5 separate regions of the Homo sapiens genome follow, and all the other regions are linked to region 2. The links are contacts of gene promoters, found by promoter capture Hi-C in blood cells and fetal thymus (Javierre and others, 2016). All regions are on one chromosome and are shown on one strand. Each heading gives the region's core, a stretch centred on a gene start or on the middle of the fragment in contact. The rest is flanking DNA. Distances are from core to core; before and after follow the strand shown.

What was found. Contacts are between HindIII fragments. The CHiCAGO score rates a contact against its expected background, and 5 or more counts as called.
Region 1: a fragment that was not itself captured here is called in contact with the fragment with the promoter of GCSH in region 2 in 1 of 17 cell types (neutrophils); the score reaches 5.2 in neutrophils.
Region 3: a fragment that was not itself captured here is called in contact with the fragment with the promoter of GCSH in region 2 in 4 of 17 cell types (naive CD8 T cells, total CD4 T cells, non-activated CD4 T cells and 1 more); the score reaches 7.8 in naive CD8 T cells.
Region 4: a contact is called between a fragment that was not itself captured here and the fragment with the promoter of GCSH in region 2, in 1 of 17 cell types (fetal thymus). The highest score is 8.4, in fetal thymus.
Region 5: a fragment that was not itself captured here is called in contact with the fragment with the promoter of GCSH in region 2 in 5 of 17 cell types (naive CD4 T cells, naive CD8 T cells, non-activated CD4 T cells and 2 more); the score reaches 13.6 in naive CD4 T cells.

The regions. Positions count from the first base shown.
Region 1 is chr16:81,880,585-81,884,779 of GRCh38, forward strand. It overlaps PLCG2 (phospholipase C gamma 2), which reads left to right. Exons shown (of 33, transcript NM_002661.5): 8 at 326-369; 9 at 2,685-2,757. Among named protein-coding and RNA genes, the nearest start is that of PLCG2, 100 kb to the left of the region's middle. The HindIII fragment of the contact is 5,892 bases long and covers 1-4,195 here.
Region 2 is chr16:81,094,358-81,098,329 of GRCh38, forward strand. GCSH (glycine cleavage system protein H) reads right to left here and starts at 2,038. Exons shown (of 5, transcript NM_004483.5): 1 at 1,774-2,038. The coding sequence starts at 1,921. RefSeq lists silencers at 1,455-2,124, 2,275-2,374. The HindIII fragment of the contact is 7,249 bases long and covers 1-2,893 here.
Region 3 is chr16:81,731,214-81,735,625 of GRCh38, forward strand. No RefSeq gene overlaps it. Among named protein-coding and RNA genes, the nearest start is that of PLCG2, 46 kb to the right of the region's middle. The HindIII fragment of the contact is 1,057 bases long and covers 2,581-3,637 here.
Region 4 is chr16:81,781,535-81,785,633 of GRCh38, forward strand. All of the region lies in intron 1 of PLCG2 (phospholipase C gamma 2), which reads left to right. Among named protein-coding and RNA genes, the nearest start is that of PLCG2, 4.3 kb to the left of the region's middle. The HindIII fragment of the contact is 1,317 bases long and covers 1,098-2,414 here.
Region 5 is chr16:81,747,480-81,751,931 of GRCh38, forward strand. All of the region lies in intron 2 of LOC105369213 (a long non-coding RNA gene), which reads left to right. It also overlaps a transcript of PLCG2 not described here. Among named protein-coding and RNA genes, the nearest start is that of PLCG2, 30 kb to the right of the region's middle. RefSeq lists an enhancer at 1,353-1,422. The HindIII fragment of the contact is 7,152 bases long and covers 1-4,452 here.

The sequences.
Region 1 (4,195 bases), core at 1,673-4,172, 790 kb after region 2:
TGAGATGTACGTAAATGTTATAATATGATATGATACCATTAAATGAATATCCCTAAAACAAATTCTAGAAGGAAACCTATGAAATGCTTAAGGGTGACTGCTTCTTGGGAATACGACTGTGGAGGGAATGAGGAGGGCTTCTACCTTTTGCTTCTTAAGTTTCTGTTATATTTGAATATTTACAACTAACATCAACTAAAATGATATTTTTAATGATCTTGTTGCATCTGACAAAATGATGCTTTTTTAACAACAAAAATCTTTCCGTTTTTGCATTAAGTGACTTGTCTAAGGTTCTTTTTTTTGTGTGTGCTTTCCATTTCAGATTCTCGATGAATTCAAAAAGGATTCGTCCGTGTTCATCCTGGGGTGAGGCAGCTCTTGTGTGTCGTTCGGGGCGGCTGTGCCGGACCTCGGTGCCTGGTGCCCAGCCGGCCTCCAGGAGGGGATGCCTGTGTGTGCAGGCGCTGACCTCCAAAGGGGCAGGGGGCCCCTGCTGGGGAATTGGCCATCCCATGCCTGTGGCGTGGATAGAGATGAGCAGTAGCAACAGGAAGGTGTGGAGCACTGGGAGGATGGTCCAGAAAGTTCTGTAGAAAAGCCTGTGTGCCTCAGGGCCTCCTTTCCCCGAATGTGCCTCATGAGATGTGACAGGTTAATAGTTTTTTTTTTTAATTACAAAAACTAATGTTAATGATCAAATAAGTGAAAAATTCCTTGTTAAACAGGTTTAACTGAATTAAAATGAGTTCAGGTGTATAAACTGCTTCACATGATGCTTGGCACCCATGAGGGGCTGATAGATAGTAATATTATTACTAAAAAGTCAGAGTTGCAGGACTTATCAGGACATTCACTGTGCCTCATGATTTCCCAAGTGGGGAATTTCTGAGATGTTATGTGTTTCCCCAGCCTATCTGACTGGGAGAAATGTTGGCCCTGGAGTTAATGGTCTGGGGTACGTTGATCCAGTCTTTATCGGTGAGCAACTTTTCCCTCTGTCACTTTTGAAATCAGAAACTCCAAGACTCCAAAGTATAAATAAAATGAATCTAATTTTTATATAGTATGTATATTCGAGACGGAGCCTCCCTTTGTCGCCTAGGCTGGAGTGCACTGGCGCAATCTTGGCTCACTGCAACCTCCACCTTCCAGGTTCAAGCGATTCTCCTGCCTCATCCTCCGAATAGCTGGGACTACAGGCATCCATCATGTCCAGCTATTGTTTTTTTTTTTTTTGTATTTTTGGTAGAGATGGGGTTTCACCATGTTGGCCAGTCTGGTGTTGAACTCATGACCTCAGGTGATCCACCTGCCTTGGCCTCCCGAAGTGCTGGGATTACAGGCATGTGCCACTGTGCCCAGCCATAATTTCTATGTAGTATTTTAATGAAAACTTAGTGTTAGACTGTGAGGCTGGTGGGGAAAGGTTAGAATTGTACTCATAATCAAAGACAACAGACTCCTGGACCCTGAGTGTTTAGTAAAGGGAGAAAGCTCAGGGCATGTTTCATCTCTTACACTATTTGAAATAGACCTCTTTTCCCCAGGCTCCTGCAAGTGCTCAGGGAAACATACCCATTACCCTGGGAAGCCCCGTGTAGCAGAATGTACTCCCCATCCAACCCGGGGGTGGCTCGTGCTGGCCCAGTGAGGCCCTGTTTTTCTGGTGGCCTGCTGGCCAAGGCGGGAGTCCTGCCTTTATTCGGAGTGTAGTGTTCCCTAGTGTTCCCTACCTGATACCTAACCTCTGCTTGGTCCAGGGAAGTGTCTTTCACACTGCAGTTAATTTTGCCCTGATGGCCTGGAGTCTGGTGGGGCCTCATGTGGCTCCCACTCCAGAGCACTCAATGACCCAGGGAACTCTGGATCGTGGCTTCTGAGGAGGCCCTTGGGTCTGGCTCCTGTCCTTTCTCCAACACCAGCTCTCCCTCTACGGGCGGGTGGTGTGTCGAGCCCTGTCTGGGTATTGGATAGGCACACTCACATCCCTGTGTTCCCCACACCTTTTGCTCTGCAATCCCTCCCTCTGGCCTGCGTTCCCTCGCTCCTACTCCTCTTTCTTTCCTCCCCTCCCTTCTCTTTTTTCCTCGAGGCCGCTGCTTCTCTGGTTTCCTTGCCAGGTACTCTCTGCACCTCCTTCTTGCTCACCCCACCTCATTCTTGCTCACCCCACCTCATTCTGGCTCACCCCACCTCGTTCTGGCTCATCCCACCTCACTCTCTGGAGCTCAAGTAGGTGCCTTTTCCTCAGGAAAGCCCCTCTGGTCCTCCAGGTCTGGGTTTGGGGCCTTCTCAGCCATTCCCACTCTTCCCCTCCCTTCCCACCCTCATCTCTTGCTACACTGTATCCCATATGCCTGGTTCACCTGTCTTCCCCATGGCCACACTCCTGGAGGGGCTCCTCAGACTCTGGGGTGCACCAGAGCTATTTTGGAGCAGCTAAATGTAGACACCAGGGCCTGCCCCTTGAGATTCCGATGTCAGGGTCCCTCTGAATCCTTGTAGGTGAGGGACATTGTGTCACTCACCTGTGTCTTCCTGTTGGCCAACCTGGTACCTAACACAGTGCCAGACTAAGTGGGGCGTTCTGGGTGGCAGGCTGCCCCATTGGCTGGCATCTCCTCTCGACTCCTCTGTTGAATGTGTCTGTCTCTAACTGCACCCCCTTTCCCCGAGGATAGGAACACTGACAGGCCGGATGCCTCTGCTGTTTACCTGCATGACTTCCAGAGGTTTCTCATACATGAACAGCAGGTGAGAGCACAAGGTGTGTGGGTGCCTGAGGGAGCTGGCGGGATGCTGCTGGGGACTAGTCTCACCCTTCTGCCGCCTGTGCTCACCTGGTCACCTGTGCTCACCTGGCCACCTGTGCTCACCTGGCCACCTGTCTTCATGGAACGATTGCAGTCTGCCAGATGCCAGAGACTTCAGATTGCTGTCTGATGCCACTGAAACTCTGGATGAGAAGAGCCTCATGTCGGGCCTCTTTTGAAGGCACACATTGAGGATGAGAAGACTGAGAAGATGGCAGGGCAGGAGGGGTGAGGGCCTGAGGATGGGGCTGCCCTCACCTGGCTGGGTGCACCTTTTCTGGCCATCATCTCAGGTGTCACTGCCTGGGAAGCCTTCCTTGACTGATGGGAGGATGGGATCAGATTCATCAAGCCTGCCAGGTCCCCTGGGAGATAAACTAGCACAGCTTTCCTTAAACAGGTGATGCCTGGGACAGTCTCCCTGGACAGGGTTTGCCTGTGGGCTCTGAGCCCAGCTATAGACTCAAGGGGGGGTTGTGTTGCGCCTTGGTTTTCCACTGCTGTGACGATGCCCCCAGAGGACACTGGGCAGTGTCCAGAGACGACATGGGTGCGTGTCACAGCGGGAGGCTGCTGCCGGCATCTAGCAGGTCAACACCAGGGATGTTCCTAAATATCCTACATTGCACAGGGCAGCCCCCCCTACCCCCCAGCGAAGAAGTATTCAGGGCCGGGTAGGGTGGCTCACGCCTATAATCCCAGCACTTTGGGAGGCCGAGGCGGGCGGATCACTTGAAGCCAGGAGTTCGAGACCTACCTGGCCAACATGGTGAAACCCCATCTCTACTAAAAATACAAAAATTAGGCAGGCATTGTGGTGGGTGCCTGTAATCCCAGCTACCTGGGAGGCTGAGGCAGGAGAATGGCTTGAACCTGGGAGGTAGAGGTTGCAGTGAGCCGAGATTGCGCCACTGGACTGCAGCCTGGGCAACAGAGCAAGACTCCGTCTCAGAAAACAAAAAACAAAAACACCCCCACCCCACCAAAAAAAAAAAAGTCAAAGAAGTATTCAGCACCAAGTACCTACAGTGCTGAGGACAAGAAACTCTGTGAGAGTGAGATCAACTTGAAATCATCTTACCAGCTGCACAGCCACCGACAGGTGGTTTACCCTTTTTGTGCCCCAGTTTCCCCCTCTTTAAGTGGGATTGAGAGCATCTACCTCTGAGAATTGTGGGGATCAGAGTCAATTGTATGGATCTGTGTGTGTGTGTGTGTGTACATGTATGCATGTCTTTTCACATATAAATCTCAAATTTTTGTTTATATCATTGGAGTTCCATTTACTTTTTTCTTTTACTTCATTTGTTTTTTTTTAAATAGAGTTTATATTTTAGAGTAGTTTTAGGGTTGCAGCAAAAATAAGTTCATTTACTTAA
Region 2 (3,972 bases), core at 788-3,287:
TTTTTTGAGATGGAGGTGTGCTCTTGTCGTCCAGCTACTCCACAGGCTGAGGCAGGAGAAGTGTTTGAACCCGGGAAGCGAAGGTTGCAGTGAGCCAAGATCCTGCCACTGGATGCCAGCCTGGGCGACAGAGCGAGACTCCATCTCAAAAAAGAAGAAAAAAAAAAGGAACGAAAACCACAGACTTGAAACTAAATTCTTATCTGAGAAATGCTTTACCTTTGTATTCAAATTAGTGATGTAGGGATCCCTATCAGAAACAGAGCGGACAGACTATTAGCAAGACAGCATAAGTAAATCTTTATGCTACAAATTTTGGAATAAATTTATCAACCATTCCAGCTCCAAACAGGTTTCTAAAACAATGAGCTAATGAGACAAGAGCCATCACTGATCTACGCAATCGAAGCAGAGGAGCAGTCAGTGTATCAAACATTTGGGCGTAAAGAAAATTGTTGGCCTGGCGCGGTGACGCACGACTGTAATCTCAGCACTTTGGGAGGCTGAGGCGGGTGGATCACTTGAGGTCAGGAGTTTGAGACCAGCCTAACGTGGCGAAACCCTGTCTCTACTAAAAATACAAAACTCAGCTGGAGGTGGTGACGGGCGCCAGTGAACCCAGCTACTCGGGAGGCTGAGGCAAGAGAATCGCTTGAATCTGGGAGGTGGCGCTTGCAGTGAGCCGAGATCACGCCGCTGCACTCCAGCCTGGGCGACAGAGCGAGGCTCCGTCTCAATAAAAAGAAAAAAAAAAAAAAAGAAAATTGTTTTTCCCCTGCAATAATTGTGCTGAAGTAGCACAAATGGCCGAAACATTCATGGGCAGGTTTCCCAGTTATTTCAAGTCCGTTTGAGTTAGGGCTCATTTCAGCAAGCACACACATGAATGATCCAATACAAACTTTAGCAGAACTTCTGTTGAGTCCAGAAGACTTTATCTTACTTGTTTTGGGGAAATAGCTGAATCTTCAAAGTTATGATTGTTTTATCTAGTAAAAAAATCTAGATCTGGCGCTTTAATTTTTTTTTTTTTTTTTTTTTTTGAGGTGGAGTTTTGCTCTGTCGCCCAGGCTGGAGTGCAGTGGCGCGATCTCGGCTCACTGCAACCTCTGCCTCCCAGGTTCAAGCGATTCTCCTGCCTCAGCCTCCCGAGTAGCTGGGATTACATGCGCATGCCGCCACGCCTGGCTAATTTTTTGTACTTTTAGTAGAGATGGGATTTCACCGTGTTAGCCAGGATAGTCTCGATCTCCTGACCTCGTGATCCGCCCTCCGGCATGAGCCAACGCGCCCTGCCTGGTGCTTTAATTTTAATAAGCGCTTCTGTTTTAATTTTACTTCGGAGTTCTCAGTAACGGTCCATTTAGTAAACTAAAGGCCTCCCCATTTGGGGTCTCAACGATGCACGCAGATGGGAGATAAACTTAAGGCCACCGAGACGCTTAAGCGACACGTGCCTGGCTTCTGCAGCAAGCGGCCGACCTGCCCGCCGGACCCGCCGGGCCACCCCCGCCTCGGTGTCCCGCAGGCCTCCCCTCCCGGCTGCATGCAATCCCTAGGGCAAAGGCTACTCGCGGGTCCTCCCGCTACTTAAGGGGGAGAAGCGGCCGCAGAGCCAGGGATCCCAACAGAAATAAGAAGGGGGCAGGGTCCGCGCTCGCTCCGCCCCGGTGGCTCAGGAGCGGTGCCCCGGCGTCCTCCGTGTCCCGCTGGGCCCGGGACAAGCAGCCCAGGCGGGGAGGGAGCAGCCGCCCACGTGCCCGCCGCGCTTACCCGAGAGCAGAGCGGGTCCAGTGCGCAGCGTACGGACGGCGCCCACCCCCAGCTGCCAGGGCCTCGGCGGGCAGGGCGCGGCGGGTGACGGGACCGCGCGCAGGGTGCAGAGCAGGGCCCGCACGCTCCGCACCACTCGCAGCGCCATGTTCGCAGGGGTGCGGGGGTCGCAGCGCTACGCCTCGGCCACCCGCGCCGGGAGGCGGGGCGGGGAGGGGCAGTTCGCGGCCGGAGGGAGCCGGCTGGATGGAGGCGCGGAGGCGGTGCCGCGGGGGCGGGACAGAGCCTGACTGGGCAGAGCGTGGAGGGCGGAGACTCCCAGGCGAGGGGGCGAGGCAGGGTCTGATTGGCCAGCACGCGGAGACTGGGGACTCCAGGGCCTGGCGCGACCTCGGATACGGCGACGCGAAAGAGGGGCGTGGGCATGGGGAAGAACCTGAGGCCCGGAAGAGGCAGCACCGAGAGGCGGAGACTAGCGCGGCGGGCCTGGGTATGATTGGGCTGCCCGCAGGAGGGGGGCGGGGCCTAGCCCCAGACTGGGTTCCTTTCCACATGTGTATCTCTTTTACTGCCTCTGTCATAAGTTTTCAAAGGTGGTTTCACCACCTCACGAAGGAATTCAAGAACAAGTCGGAAAGTCGTGAAAGTACAGAGGTTTACTGCAAAGTACACACTGAAGAAAGGGCGGACTCAAAAGAGGGCCACACAATGGGGCTTGGGGTTTCCATCTTTATGGGTTTCTTTGAGAAATGGAATATACACAAAGGTTTCTGGAATAAGGTGGAGACTTGTCAGAACTGTGGTGCCACCCATTTTTACACCAAATATGGGTGTTCCCGGAATTGTTGTGGTGCCGGTGGGTGTGTGACTTAGTATGTTAATGAGTCCTAGGTGAAGCCTAGGTCAAAGCCACACCACGTTGGGTCCAGTTGGTTTTAGCCAGGTTGACCCACACCCTGGTTTTTCAGGGTCTTAGCCCATAGCTTGTGCAGCTATTTCAACAGTTTCCTTTTGTTAGACAGAACTGCAGCCTGGAAGTTTCTATTCTCCTTCAACTGCTCTGTAACGTTCCTGTCTCAAAGAGCCCCAGGGACCCCAAACAGGACCGGCAGAATCCAGAAGCTTACTTAAAAAGGAATAAAGACTTGTCCAAGGGTCATAAGTGGCTTCTTGGTGGAGACTGGACCCAAGCCAGTCACTAATGCAGAAATATTCAAAACGCAGAGAGCTGAGACCCAGTGTGCACAATTCCTTGTTTCATCGGCCAGCGGTGTGACCAAGGCCTTCCGAGAAAAGCCGAAGTCATCATCCCAATCCAAGAAGTCAGAAAAAAATTAGGTTCTGGGAAAAACCTCACCTTTAACACAGATTTTATGGAGTGGCCATGAGTCAGCAAAGAAATACTGTTCTGAAAAACACCTTAAGCTACACACACACCTTTAGTACTGTTACAGAAAGGGCTCCCAATCCAGACCCCAAGAGAGGGTTTTTGGACCTCATGCAAGAAAGAATTTGGGGAGAGTCTATAAAGTGAAAGCACGTTTAATAGAGAAGTAAAGAAAAAAAAGAATGGCTTCTTCGTAGACAGAGCAGCAGTATGGCTTCTCGACTAAGTGTACTTATAGTTATTTCTTGATTGTATGCTAAACAAGGGGTGGATCATTCAAGAGTTCTCCAGAAAAGGGGCAGGGATTTCCTAGAACTAACGGTTCCTCCGCTTTTTGGACTATAGGGTAACTTCTCTGGACGTTGCCATTGCATTTGTGAACTGTCATGACGCTGGTGGGAGTTGTTTTTTTTTTAACATGCTAATGCATTATAATTAGCGTATAATGAGCAGTGAGACCTACCAGAGGTCGCCATCTTGGTTTTGGTGAGTTTTGGCCAGCTCCTTTACCGCATCCTATTTTATCAGCAGGGACTTTGTGACCTGTATCTTGTGCCAACCCTAGCTCATCCTGTGACTAAGTGAGGCAGGTGAATCACTTGAGGTCAGGAGTTCGAGACCAACCTGGCCAACATGGAGAAACCCCCGTCTCTACTACAAATCCAAAGTTTAGCCAGGCATGGTGGCAGGTGCCTGTAATCCCAGCTACTCAGGAGGCTGAGGCACGAGAATCACTTGAGCCTGGGAGGCAGAGGTTGCAGTGAGTCGAGATCACGCCACTGCACTCCAGCCTGGGTGACAGAGCGAGACTC
Region 3 (4,412 bases), core at 1,859-4,358, 640 kb after region 2:
CTTTTTTTTTTTTGGAGACGGAGTTTCACTCTGTCACCCAGGCTGGAGTGCAGTGCACTGCAGTTCACTGCAACCTGTGCCTCCTGTGTTCAAGCAATTCTCCTGCCTCAGCCTCCTGAGTAGCTGGGATTACAGGCATGCACCACCCCGCCCAGGCTAATTTTTCTATTTTTAGTAGAGACAGGGTTTCACCATGTTGGTCAGGCTGGTCTCGACCTTCTGATCTTGTGATCCAACCACCTGGGCCTCCCAAAGTGCTGGGATTACAGGCTTGAGCCACCATGCCTAGCCGTGATTAACTTCTATAACTAAGGTCTGAGTCCTGAAGCTCTTCCTCTGGAGCCTCAGTAAATTTATTTAATCTAAATGGGTCCAGGTGCTGCGGTGATTACCCTTATCTTGTCTCCTGCTAAATCATGGGGGTTTGGGGAGTTCCTTCAGACCCCCAATAAACTTGCCTGTGGAGGCCTGGGGAGTTATTTCAGACCCCCAGTAAAACTTGTTTAATCCTAAACAGGTCCTGTTAAGAATTCCTTCGTTATCCTGTCATGCTTCAAGGCCCAGGAAAGGCCCAGGCAAAACTCTTGGTGGGCTTTTGTGACATTCCAGCCTTTGTAGAAGGGCACTGGCTCTCTCAGCTATTAATGTTTCACTGAACTACTCGGTCAGTGCCGAAGCCGTTGTGATGAAGCCTGCGTTAGTGAGACCCGGCCTGCACAGGAGCACATGAAGAGGGAACCAGAAGCCTCTTACTGACCTCCTTCCACTCCCCCCGTTCTGTTTCCAATGCCTATTCACTAAGGAACATTGACCGAGCCCCTCCTTGTGCCAAGCAGTGTCCTGAATGCTTTATGAGGTCACGGAATCCTCCCTGTGGCCCCAGGACCTACAAGGGACATTTTGGAAGCCGCTGGTTTATTTATTGTTGAGCACATATGTGTTCACACATGTGTTCCCTGGAGCACATGTGTGAAATGGTGTTCTTCTTGGCGCTATGGACTGCTCTGTCAAATCTTTCCAGTTTGTTTTTTTAATAGATGTATTTTTTGTTTTTGGAGACAGGGTCTCACTCTGTCACCCAGGCTGAGGTGCACTGGCACCATCATAGCTCACCGCACCCTCCACCTCCTGGGCTCAAGTGATCCTCCCACATCAGCCTCCTGAGTAGCTGGGACTACAGGCCAGTGCTACCATGCCTATTTTTAAATTTTTTATAGAGACGGGGTCTCACCACGTTGCCCAGGCTGGTTTCAAACTCCTGGCCTTCAGTGATCCTCCTGCCTTGGCTTCTTAAAGCACTGGGATTACAGGTGTGAGCCGCCATGCCTGGGCTTTTCCAGTTTCTTAAAATACCTTTAGTAGCACAAAGTCAGTCTAAGCTAGTTAAGACTTTGGCCTCAAAACTCAGTTCACGTTTCCTTCAGCCCCTCCCTTTTCTGAGCACCTGCCTCATTTTGCTGGGGTTGCCCTTGTCCTCCGTAGGCCATTGCTGCTTCTCTGGCTGACAACAGGGATGTTCAAATGGTGGTCCAGGTGTGAGCTTTGGGAGAGACCCCATGAGGCAGGGGTGGAGGTGATGGTCCCCAGGCCATATTCCCCCCAGCCCCTTCCCCCTGTGGGCCACCTCCCGCTGCCCCCTGCTGGGTCTCTTCTTCCTTTCTGGGTGGCATAACAGGAAGCTATCTCAGGCTTACTGCCTCCTGGTGTCCACTTGACTCCCAGAAAGTCACACTGCCCTGACCTGTAGACTGGAGGACATTGCTGTGGTCACCTCTCCCCACCCAGGCACCTCTTGCTAGCTGCCTTTCTCTAGTCCAGGCAGGCAGCATGAAGATCAAGCATCACCTGCCTTGGGCTGGGGGTGGCTGGAGGACAGGAGTGAACCCGGAACCTGGGAAGGAGATTTCCCTCTTTTTCTCTCCCTGCTCATGGACCTCAAGTCTTCTGTTGGAGGTGGGATGACATATGGAGAGAGTGGAACATTTTGCACCACTTTTTAATAAGCCCTGAAGTCGTCTTTTAGTTTTCTACCTTTAGAACATGGGGAACTCATGCCTAGATGGTGATTTCTAGACTGCTAGAGAAGGCTCACTCAGTCTCCTCTTATTTTGACCATCCATCTACCCAATGATCCATCCACCCACCCTCTATCCATCTATTCTCCATCCATCCAGCCATCTACTTATTCATCCATCTGTCCATCCTCTCTCCATCCACCCTTCCACCTACCCATCCACCCACTCACCCATCCATCCATCCATCCATCCATCCATCCGTCCATCCACCCACCCATTCATTTATCTATCTACCCATCCATCTATCCATCCATTCACCATCATCCACCCACCCATCCATCTATCCATCCACCCACCTATCCATCTATTCATCTATCCAGCCACCCATCCATCTATCCATTCACTCATTCATTCATCTATCCATACATACATTCACCATCCATCCATTCATCCATTCACCCTCCATTCATCGACGTTGACTGTACACCTACTATGTGCCAGTCACTCTGGTAGATGCTGAGGATCTAGCAATGAACAAGCAAGACCAAAATTCCCATGCTTATAAAGCTTATGTTCTGGGAGGAGTCAGGCAATAACAAAATCAACAATGAAAAGATATAGTGGGCCAGGCGTGGTGGCTGGTGCCTGTAATCCCAGCACTTTGGGAGGCTGAGGCGGTAGATCACTTGAGGTCAGGAGTTGGAGACCTACCTGGCCAACATGGTGAAACCCCATCTCTACTAAAAATACAAAAATTAGCCAGGTTTGGTGGGACCTAGCTACTCGGGAGGCTGAGGCACAAGAATCGCTTGAACCCGGGAGGCAGAGTTTGCAGGGAGCTGAGATGGTGCCATTGCACTCCAGTCTGGGTGACAGAGCGAGACTCCATCTCAAAAAAAAAAAAAAAGAGAGAGATGGAAAAGATGTAGTACCTTAAAAGGATAAATACGGTAGAGAAAAATTAATCCAAACAGGGGACTGGTGAGAGTTGAGGAGGGGTATCCAGGTGGGGCTCACTGAGAAGGTGACATTTGAGCAAAAACCTGAGGGAAGGGAGAAGGGAGCTGAGTGGGTATTTGGGGAAAGAGTATTCTAGGCAGAGGGAACAGCCAGTGCAGAAGCCCAGAGGTGGGAGTGGGCACAGAGTGTGAGGAGCAGGAGGAGGGGATGCAGCCAGGGCAGAGTGGGCACAGGGGAGGAGAGGGGAGGGCCGGGTCAGCGGCTGCTTGCGGGCCTCTGGGTGTCATTGGTTTCACTGTCCATCCGCTCGGTCCACAGTAGCTCCACATGCACTGCAGCACTTGCTGCTCACCGGGCCCCTTGCTGAGGGTTCCCCTGTGCACGTGTCATCTCATCTCCAAAATAGTCTCATCATTCTCATTTTATAGATGAGAAAACTGAGGCCTGAGCCTGTAAGGTGAACCATGAGGGATGAGAAGGGAATAGGCTGGAAGTGGGTATTTGGGGTGGGTCGGGCAGAGCCCAGGCCTACATGACATTCTCTGGGAAGAGGCAGCCAGGCCTTTGCCAAAAACCTCCCTATGGCTGCCCCAGTTGGCCCAGGTTCTTGAACCTAGAAGAACCCAAATCTTCTTGTCACAAACTCTCTTGGGGAGGCAAGAAGCTTCTCTGTTCCCAGCCTTCCAGGATGACCAGCCCCAGCGGGCGTGTGTGTGGTGGGGTGGGGGAGAGGGAGGGACAGAGCCAGGTTTTTCCTACCAGGCAGGCCCATGCAGCTTGCGCGTGGGTGGGTGAGAGAAGGGTGGGTGGTTCTTAGCAGAAGGAGATGATGCCAAATGGGCCCAGGAGGTGGCCAATAGCATCCAGAGGCCAGAGCTGCTCTGGCAGAACCAGGCACTGGCTCCATCTCACAGTGGTCCAGGGGCCACATTTGAGCCTCCCTTGGCCTGTCTTGGCAAGAAATAGAGAGCAGACATTTACAAAATGTTTGGTTATTCATTTGACAAATATTTACATGCGTCTACTGTGTGCTAGGCCCTGGGTTCTGTACTGAGTAGATGATGAGTGAGTGGGTGGATGGGTGGGTAAATGAATGAGTGGATGACTGGGTGGATGGGTAGCTGGATCAATGGATAGATAGATGGATGATGGATGAATAGATTGGTGGGTGAGTGGATGGGTGAATAAATGGGTGGGTGTATAGATGGATGTGTGGATTGTTGAGTGACTCATGGATGGATATATATTAGTTGTTTATTGCTATTTAACAAATCATTTTAAAATTTGTGGCTTAAAGCAGAAAATATTTATTATCTCACTATGTCTCTGGCTCAGGAATTTGGGATTGCCTAGCTGGGTTGTTCTGGCTCAGGGCCTCTCACACGGCTGCTGCAGGATGGTGGCTTGGTCTGCAGTTTCATATGACAGCTCGCCTGG
Region 4 (4,099 bases), core at 506-3,005, 690 kb after region 2:
TGTTTTGCTTTTTAGTAGCTGCTCACAGGTTGCCCTAAAGGAGCAGGGGTGGAATTTACACTCTCACTTGCAGTGGCTGACACCATTCCTTTGAAAATAGTGTATTCCCTCTAATGCTGCAGGGTGGGTGTAAGGTGCAGCAGTAATGTCCCTTGAACTGTTGGAGGGGCCCTTACCACTCAAGTATTTGCCTGTGCTCCATTTTAACACAATTGTCTTGTGGGATTTTTGGATGAAATCCTGTACTGGCTTACCATGCACAGAGCACTGAAGAGACAAAAACTTCCTTGATTTCTGGTTTTGGGTCCTCGCATCTCATTTCATGTCCTTTCCCCCCCCCCCCCCGCCCGCCCCCGAGACGGAGTCTTGCTCTGTCGCCCAGGCTGGAGTGCAGTGGCGCGATCTCGGCTCACTGCAAGCTCCGCCTCCCGGGTTCACGCCTTTCTCCTGCCTCAGCCTCACGAGTAGCTGGGATTACAGGCATGTGCCACCACACCCGGCTAATTGTTTTGTATTTTTTTTTAGTAGAGACGGGGTTTCATCGTGTTAGCCAGGATGGTCTTGATCTCCTGACCTCATGATCCGCCCACCTCGGCCTCCCAAAGTGCTGGAATTACAGTCATAAGCCACCGTGCCTGGCCCATTTTATGCCTTTCTAAATAAGCTTATGAGATACAAGAACATGAATGAGCTTATGAGATACAAGAAAAACCTTTAGAAGGACATGAAATGTAAAAATGGCAAAAATCAGTTATTCAAACTCAGCCATATTTGTATTTACAAAATAAGTCATTTTATAGAATTACCCATTAAGAATGGGAAACAGGAACAAAAAAGGGATTTCAAGGCTTTTTTTTTTCTTTTTTTGAAAAAACCAAAAAAAGCAGAAGCAAAATGGAAGTTGCTGTGGTGGCTGGTGCTCTCTCCTGGGCTCAAGGTCTTGGAGACCTCCCTGCCATAGTTGATAAAGCGTGGAACGCTGGAGACCTGAGCTGGGTGCTGGCAGGATTTGAATGGTGGACTCCAGGGATCTTTTGGCCGTGAAGATCTGTTTCCAATTGCATCTCATAAGCTCATTCATGTTCTTGTATCTCACAAGCTTATTTAGAAGGGCATTTCGTGAGATACAAGAACCCCAAACCAGAAATCAAGGAAGTTTTTCTCTTCAGTGCTCTGTGCATGTTAAGCCAGTACAGGATTTCATCCAAAATCCCACAAAACGATTCTGTTAAAATGGGGCACAGGCAAATACTTGAGTGGTAAGGGCCCCTCCAACAGTTGAATGGACATTACTGCTGCACCTTACACCCACCCTGCAGCATCAGAGGGGATACAGTGTTTTCAAAGGAACGGTGTCAGCCACTGCAGGTGAGAGTGTAAATTCCACCCCTGCTCCTTTAGGGCAACCTGTGAGCAGCTATTACAAAGCAATTGGTGAGACGCAGCATGGAAGTCTGGTGTTTATGGCTGAGTTGATCCACTGGGCTTCGAAGCTGGAAGTAACTGGGACCCTGGGGAAGGTTAAGTCCAAGGCCCTCCCAGAGTGAGGGCTGGAAAGAACTGAGGAGCCTGGTCCCTTGTCCTGGTTTCTGTCTAATTGAAGGTGTTATAATGGGGCTTGTGTTTCCTACTTATGTTCCAGTGGACTATGGCCTAGAGACCTGGGAGTGGGGAACTCCAGGATGCATGGCTGGGAACAGTCAACATAGTGAAGAGCTCTGTGGTTGGCAGCTGGGTCAAATCCAGTTTCAGCTACTTTTTTAAAATTTTATTATTATATTATTATTATGCTTTAAGTTTTAGGGTACATGTGCACAACGTGCAGGTTTGTTACATATATATACACGTGCCATGTTGGTGTGCTGCACCCATTAACTCGTTTTGCTACTTTCTATCTGTGTGACCTCGGATAAGTCCCTTAACCTCTTTTGAGAGTGGCAAGTACTGGCAAATCAGTTAATATCTGGCCAGATGCTGCCACAGGATTCTGGACTAGGGGCTTGGGACTCAGGTGAGGGTTTTGATCTTTGTGCTGCTGCTGGTCTACATGACTTTGATCAAGTAATGTGACCTCTTGGGATTTCAGTTTTCCGCTGCCGTATTTCCCATTGAGATAAATGAGACGAACCAGACACAACAGGTGCTTGGCACCTGGGGAAGGGCCCAATAAATGGCTGCTTAACAAGGATGAAATGGACCATGGGGGCACCTTGTTCATCCCTTTGTCCTGGCTAATGATCAGGAGGTCATTTTGGGTTTCTCCTGATAAGGTAAGATGCACATTAACTCTCAGCAGGGTTTTTTTTTAGCATACTCTGTTCTGCCTCCTAGCCTTTGCTTAAACTTAAAGCCAGTTCCTCCTGCTTCATCTTTTTTGAAAGATTGAGTTCAGATGCCTGCTTTTTTCCCCTGAAAGCTTTTTCTGAGCCCTTTAAGTGCCTAGCCACACTCCAGATTAAATTTAGGATTCCTTCTTGCTGCTCTCTGCCCGCCGTGCCCCCAGTGCATGCTTCTGCTGCTGCACTTGTAACTACATTAGAATTCTCAGTTGATTAGTCTGTTTCCCCATGGGCAGAGAGCAGGTGTAATTATCTCCTGCTGCTGGCATGGCTGACCGAGGAGGTCCCTTTGGTATGGGTGTGCAGTAGAGGGAGGTGGGGGCAAAGGGCAAATCCTGGGCCCCTCCCCATTCCCCTCATTTGCATCCTAGTCCCCACCTCAGTGCCTGGCATAGAGTTGACATTTGATTAATGCCTTCCCCAATGGCTGATTAATGCTAACTGAGACCCTGGTAAATGCTGCAGGCTGTGCATACATTGTAGCTTTTTGTCTTCCCAGCTGCCCCTTGTGGGCATTTAACCTCCATTTTACAGATGAGGGAACCGAGCCACAGATTTAGAGCAGCTTGGCAGAAGGCTGAGCCCGGCTGGAAGCACAGACAGCCCTGGCTGAACACCAGCCTCTCACTCCTCCTTCTTTGGATCCTGGGAGGGTCTCTCTAGTGCTACTCTGTAACCTTGAGAGCTACAGAGTAACAACTCCAGGCACCTCCAGGGACTTGGAGGGAAAGGAGGAGATAAGAAACAGAACAAATAATGGTAATTTTAACAATAGCTTAATCTAAGGAGTGCTGACTTTGTATCATTGTTTTAAGGGCCTGAGATACATTATCTTGTTTAAGCCTTACAAAAACATTTAGATGGTGGATACTGTTACCTTCTTTTATGGGACTGGAAATGAGCCCAGAGGATCTAAGTGACTTCTTGCAGCCTAGCTGGCAAGGGGGTCCCTGGTGGTTCAGCTCCAGGGCCTGGGGAGCGCCTTCACTCTAAGTCCTATTTTGGGGGCAGGCAATGTGTTTCTGGGGATTTGGGAGGCAGAATGAGGGAATGGTACAGAGTGAGGGCTCAGGGAGGGACTAAGGGATTTTGAGCAGAGGAGTGACATGATTTGATTCATGTTCTAAAAGGATCCTTCTGGCTCTGCATCTGAGAATTGACCCTAGCAGGTCAGGGAAGAAGTGGGGAGAGCAGGATTAGAATAGTTCAAGTATGAGATCCTAGGAGGAGCCGGTGAAAGGGTGAGATGCGTTGGAAGTGGTCGTGAGAGAGTCCACGCAAGGATTCCTCCAAGGTTTTGGGCCCAAGCACCTCTCTGACACTGACCACCCACAAGCATAAACAGCAATCAAGGACACCTCCTAGGTGCTGGCCGTCACCCCAGGTGCTTTGCTGGGGCATTTCTGAACACTCCCATTTTAAAAAGGCTAAAACTGAGGCACAGAGAGGTCAAGCAGTCTACCCAGAGCTACACAGTCAGCAGGAACCTTCTCTAGGGTTTGAACGTGAAGCTGCCAAGACCTGACATTTCCTGCCTTTCATCCTCATTTCTATGCAGAGGAACCATTTGCCAAAGTCTCCATGGATGATTCTGAAGGTTTAGTTTGTTTTTCGTTTATTTCATTTTTTTTTTTTTTTTGTTCTTAATTTTGCTCAGGAATAAAGAGATGGTTAGAAATCTCTAGACAGGATAGAGAAGGATGTTGGAGATTAGGGGTGAGAGGTGGGAGCCAGGCTGGGCTGCTTTGGCTATTCAAATA
Region 5 (4,452 bases), core at 1,903-4,402, 650 kb after region 2:
AGGTGAGATTGTGCCCCTGCACTCCAGCCTGGGCGACAGAGGAAGACTCTGTCTGAAATAATAATAATATTATTAATGGTAGTATTGTTTTTTAAATAAATGATTGGAAGTCATCTACACATCTGTGGATAGAGGATGAGTTACATCAATTGTGATGTATCCATATACTGGAATACCATGCAGCCATTTAAAATAATAAGGTGCAACATCATCTATATAATATTCTTGCAAAAAAATGTTTAACCTAAATCTATTATGAGGAAAGAAACAGAAATTCAAGTTAAGAGAGATTTGCAAAATGCCTGGACACTCAAAAATGTCAGTGTCATAAAAGACAATATGGACTGGCGGACTGTTTTAGATTACAGTAGACTAGAGACATGACTGTTAAATGAATGACTTTTTTTCTTTCCATTTTTTTTTGAGATGGAATCACCCAGGCTGGAGTGCAGTAGCGTGATCTTGGGTCACTGCAACCTCTGCGTCCCAGGTTCAAGTGATTCTCCTGCCTCGGCCTCCCAAGTAGCTGGGATTACAGGCACCTGCAAGCACACTCAGCTAATTTTTGTATTTTTAGTAGAAACAGGGTGGCCCCATATTGGCCAGGCTGGTCTTGAACTCCTGACCTCAGATGATCCGCCCACCTCGACCTCCCAAAGTGCTGGGATTGCAAGCCTGCGCCACCGCACCCGGCCAAGGCCCTTAGTTTGAGATAGCCTGGCCAACATGGTGAAACTCCATCTCTACTAAAAATACAAAATTTAGCTGGGCTTGGTGGCACATGCGTATAATCCCAGCTACTCAGGAGGCTGAGGCATGAGAATTGCTTGAACCTGGAAGGTGGAAGTTGCAGTAAGTCGAGATGGTGCCACTGTACTCTAGCCTGGGTGACAGAGTGAGACTTTGTCTCAAACTTAAAAAATTAAAAAAAAAAAAATGAAAAAAGAAAGGTGCAGAGCAGAGTATGCAGAATGCTGCATTTTTGTGGAAATGCTCAAAGACTGAGTCTGAAAGGAGACACAAGAAAGAGGTGACTAAGGATGTCTCGGAGAGGAGAACTGGTTTGGGGGAGGGGACATTAGGGGTAAACAGGGGACTTCTTGCACTTACCCCTTGAGACCTTTTGAATGGCATGCCATGTGCCTGTATAAACTATTCAAATTGCAAAAAAATAACTTCAAAGAAGACTGTTTCTGGGAAAGCACTTGTGGTCAGAAAACCCCAGACTCGGATCTCCTATTCCCCATTTGTAGACTTGATGGTAAACCCAAACAGAAGGAAGGAAAGCCAGTGACTTTCATATCTGTTTCCACATCTTATCCTCATTACAACCCTGTGAACCAGTTAGGTTTTATCGGGCACATTTGACAGATTAGGAAAATTGAGGCTCAGAGAGGCTCGGTGAGATGCTGGCAGAGCTGGGATTGAAACAGTCTTGACTATGACTGTACCTGGCTCCTTCCCTCCTGCAGGGGACCTCTCCAGGCACTGAGGCCTGTGGCGGGGGGTGGCAGGAGAGAGCTCAGGGTGGAAGATGTGGGTGAGGTTTACTTCCAGGCTGTGGTGCTCACTAAAGCTCCTTTCCACTGCGACTTTCACAAGGGGGCCCCTCAGTCAGGAAACAGCAGTCTAGGATGCCGGGCAGCCAAACCAGGGTTTGATTTACATGTTCTCACACTACTGGTTGGGTGGTTTATTTGGGAAGGTAGGAGCTAACTCAGCCAAAGATCCTGTTCTCTGAACCCATCTGGGTTGCTTTTTAACATCTCTATAATCCCTGAAGATGTAGATTTTAAAAAATCACTTGATTGATTTTTGTCAAATTATATGCCTTAAACAAACTAAACTTTTTCATTAAATAAATTATATTTTATTTTTTATTTTTTTGCGATGGAGTCTCATTCACTCTGTCATCCAGGCCGGAGTGCAGTGGTGTGATCTTGGCTCCTGGCAACCTCTGCCTCCTGGGTTCAAGCAATTCTCCTGCCTCAGCCTCCTGAGTAGCTGGGATTACAGGCGCCTGCCACCAAGCCCAGCTAATTATGTGTATTTTTAGTAGAGACGAGGTTTTACCATGTTGGCCAGGCTTGTCTCAAACTCCTGACCTCAAGTGATCCATCCGCCTTGGCCTCCCAAACTGCTGGAATGACAGGCGTGAGCCACTGTGCCTGGCCTTCATTAAATAAATTTAAAGAAATAGATGAGTGTTACCAATTCAAGCAATGAAGTATTTGGAGGGCAATTTGGTGTTTCTGTCAAAATTGTTTTGGTATGTGTCCAGCATTTACACAGCAAATGATTTATCTTTCCCTGTGGATATACTCACCCCACTGTTCAAGGATACATGTCCAAAGATGCATTGCTTATGAAGCAAAGACACAAACCTAGAAAGAGCTGAGATGTCCCTCAATGGACAGCTGCTTCACTTAAGTGTAATCCATCTACGCGGCGGAATGCAAGGTACCATGGTTGAGAAAAAGAAAGCTGGCTGGATTTGCTGACCTAGAAAGAGATCTGCAATATACCGTTAAGTAAAAACAACAGTAGAATAATATGATCCCATTGTGAAAAAAAAAAAGTTAAAAACACATAGAGGTATCTATGTTTTAGCAAACATAGAAAACAATGTATAAGATCCAGCAATTTGGCTGGGTGTGGTGGCTCATGCCTGTAATCCCAGCACTTTGGGAGAACAAGGCGGACAGATCACCTCAGGCCAGGAGTTCAAGACCAGCTTGGCCAACATGGTGAAATTCCATCTCTGCTAAAAATACAACAACAACAACAAAAATTAGCTGGACATGGTGGCGGGCATCCGTAATCCTAGCTACTCAGGAGGTTGAGACAGAAGAATCCCTTGAACCTGGGAGGGGAAGATTGCAGTGAGCTGAGATCTCACCACTGCACTCCAGCCTGGGTGGTGATAGAGTGAGACTCTGTCTCAAAAAAAAAAAAAAAAAAAATCCAGCACAGCAATCCCACTTCTGGATATTTACCCAAAAGATTTGAAATCAGTTTGTTGAAAGATGTCTGCACTGTCAGGTTCATTGCAGCATCATTCATAATAGCTGAGTTATGGAATCAACCTAAATGTCCATCAACAGATTAATGCATAAAGAAAACGTGCCACATATTTACAATGGACTACTATTCAGCATTTAAAAAGCAGAATGGGGACTGGAGATTTTTTTTTTTTTTTTTTTTTTGAGATAGAGTCTCCCTCTTTTGCCCAGGCTGGAGTGCAGTGGCGCGATCTCGGCTCACTGCAAGCTCCGCCTCCCGGGTTCATGCCATTCTCCTGCCTCAGCCTCCCGAGTACTTGGGACTACAGGCGCCTGCCACCACACCTGCACCTGGCTAATTTTTTGTATTTTTAGTAGAGATGGGGTTTCAACATGTTAGCCAGGTTGGTCTCGATCTCCTGACCTCAAGATCCACCCACCTCAGCCTCCCAAAGTGCTGGGATTACAGGCGTGAGCCACCGCACCCAGCTTTTTTTTTTTTTTTTTTTTTTTTTTCAAACAGAGTTTCACTCTTGTTGTCCAGACTGGAGTACGGTAGTGCAATCTTGGCTCACTACAACCTCCACCTCCAGGGTTTAAGTGATTCTCCTGCCTCAGCCTCCTCAGTAGCTGGTATTACAGGTGCATTCCACCATGCCCAGCTAATTTTAGTATGTTTAGTAGAGATGGGGTTTCACTATGTTGGCCAGGCTGGTCTCAAACTCCTGACCTCAGGTGATCCACCTGCCTCAGCCTCCCATAGTGCTGGGATTACAGGCATGAGCCACTGCCTCCAGCCTGGAACTAGAGATTGATGGCCAGGGAAATTCTGTCATTTGCGACAACATGGATAAAGATGGAGAACATTATGCTAAGTGAAATAAGCCAGGCCCAGAAAGACAAGTGTCACATGTTCTCACTTATATGTGGAATCTAAAACAGTCAAACTCATAGAAGCAGAGAGTAGAATGGTGGTTACAGAGGCTCGAGGACGGGAAATGGGGAGATGGTGGTCAAAGCATACAAAATCTCAGATAGGAGGAATATGGGTTTTTTTTGAGACCTATTGTATGGCGTGGTAAATGTCATTAATAATAGAGTATGGTACATTTCAAAATTGCTAAGAGAGTAAATTCAAACAGTCTCATCACAAAAAAGTTAAGTGTTTGAGGTGATGGATATGTTAACTAGCTTTAATTATTCCACGTTGTATTCATAGATCATAATGTCACTTTTTACCCTATAAATATGTAAAAGAGTCCGGGTGCAGTGGCTCACAGCTGTAATCCTAGCCCTTTGGGAAGTCACGGTGGGTGGATCACCTGAGGTCAGGAGTTCAAGAGCAGCCTGGCCACCATGGTGAAATCTTGTCTCTACTAAAAATATAAACATTAGGTGGATATGGTGGCAGGCGTCTGTAATCTTAGCTACTCGGGAGGCTGAGGTGGGA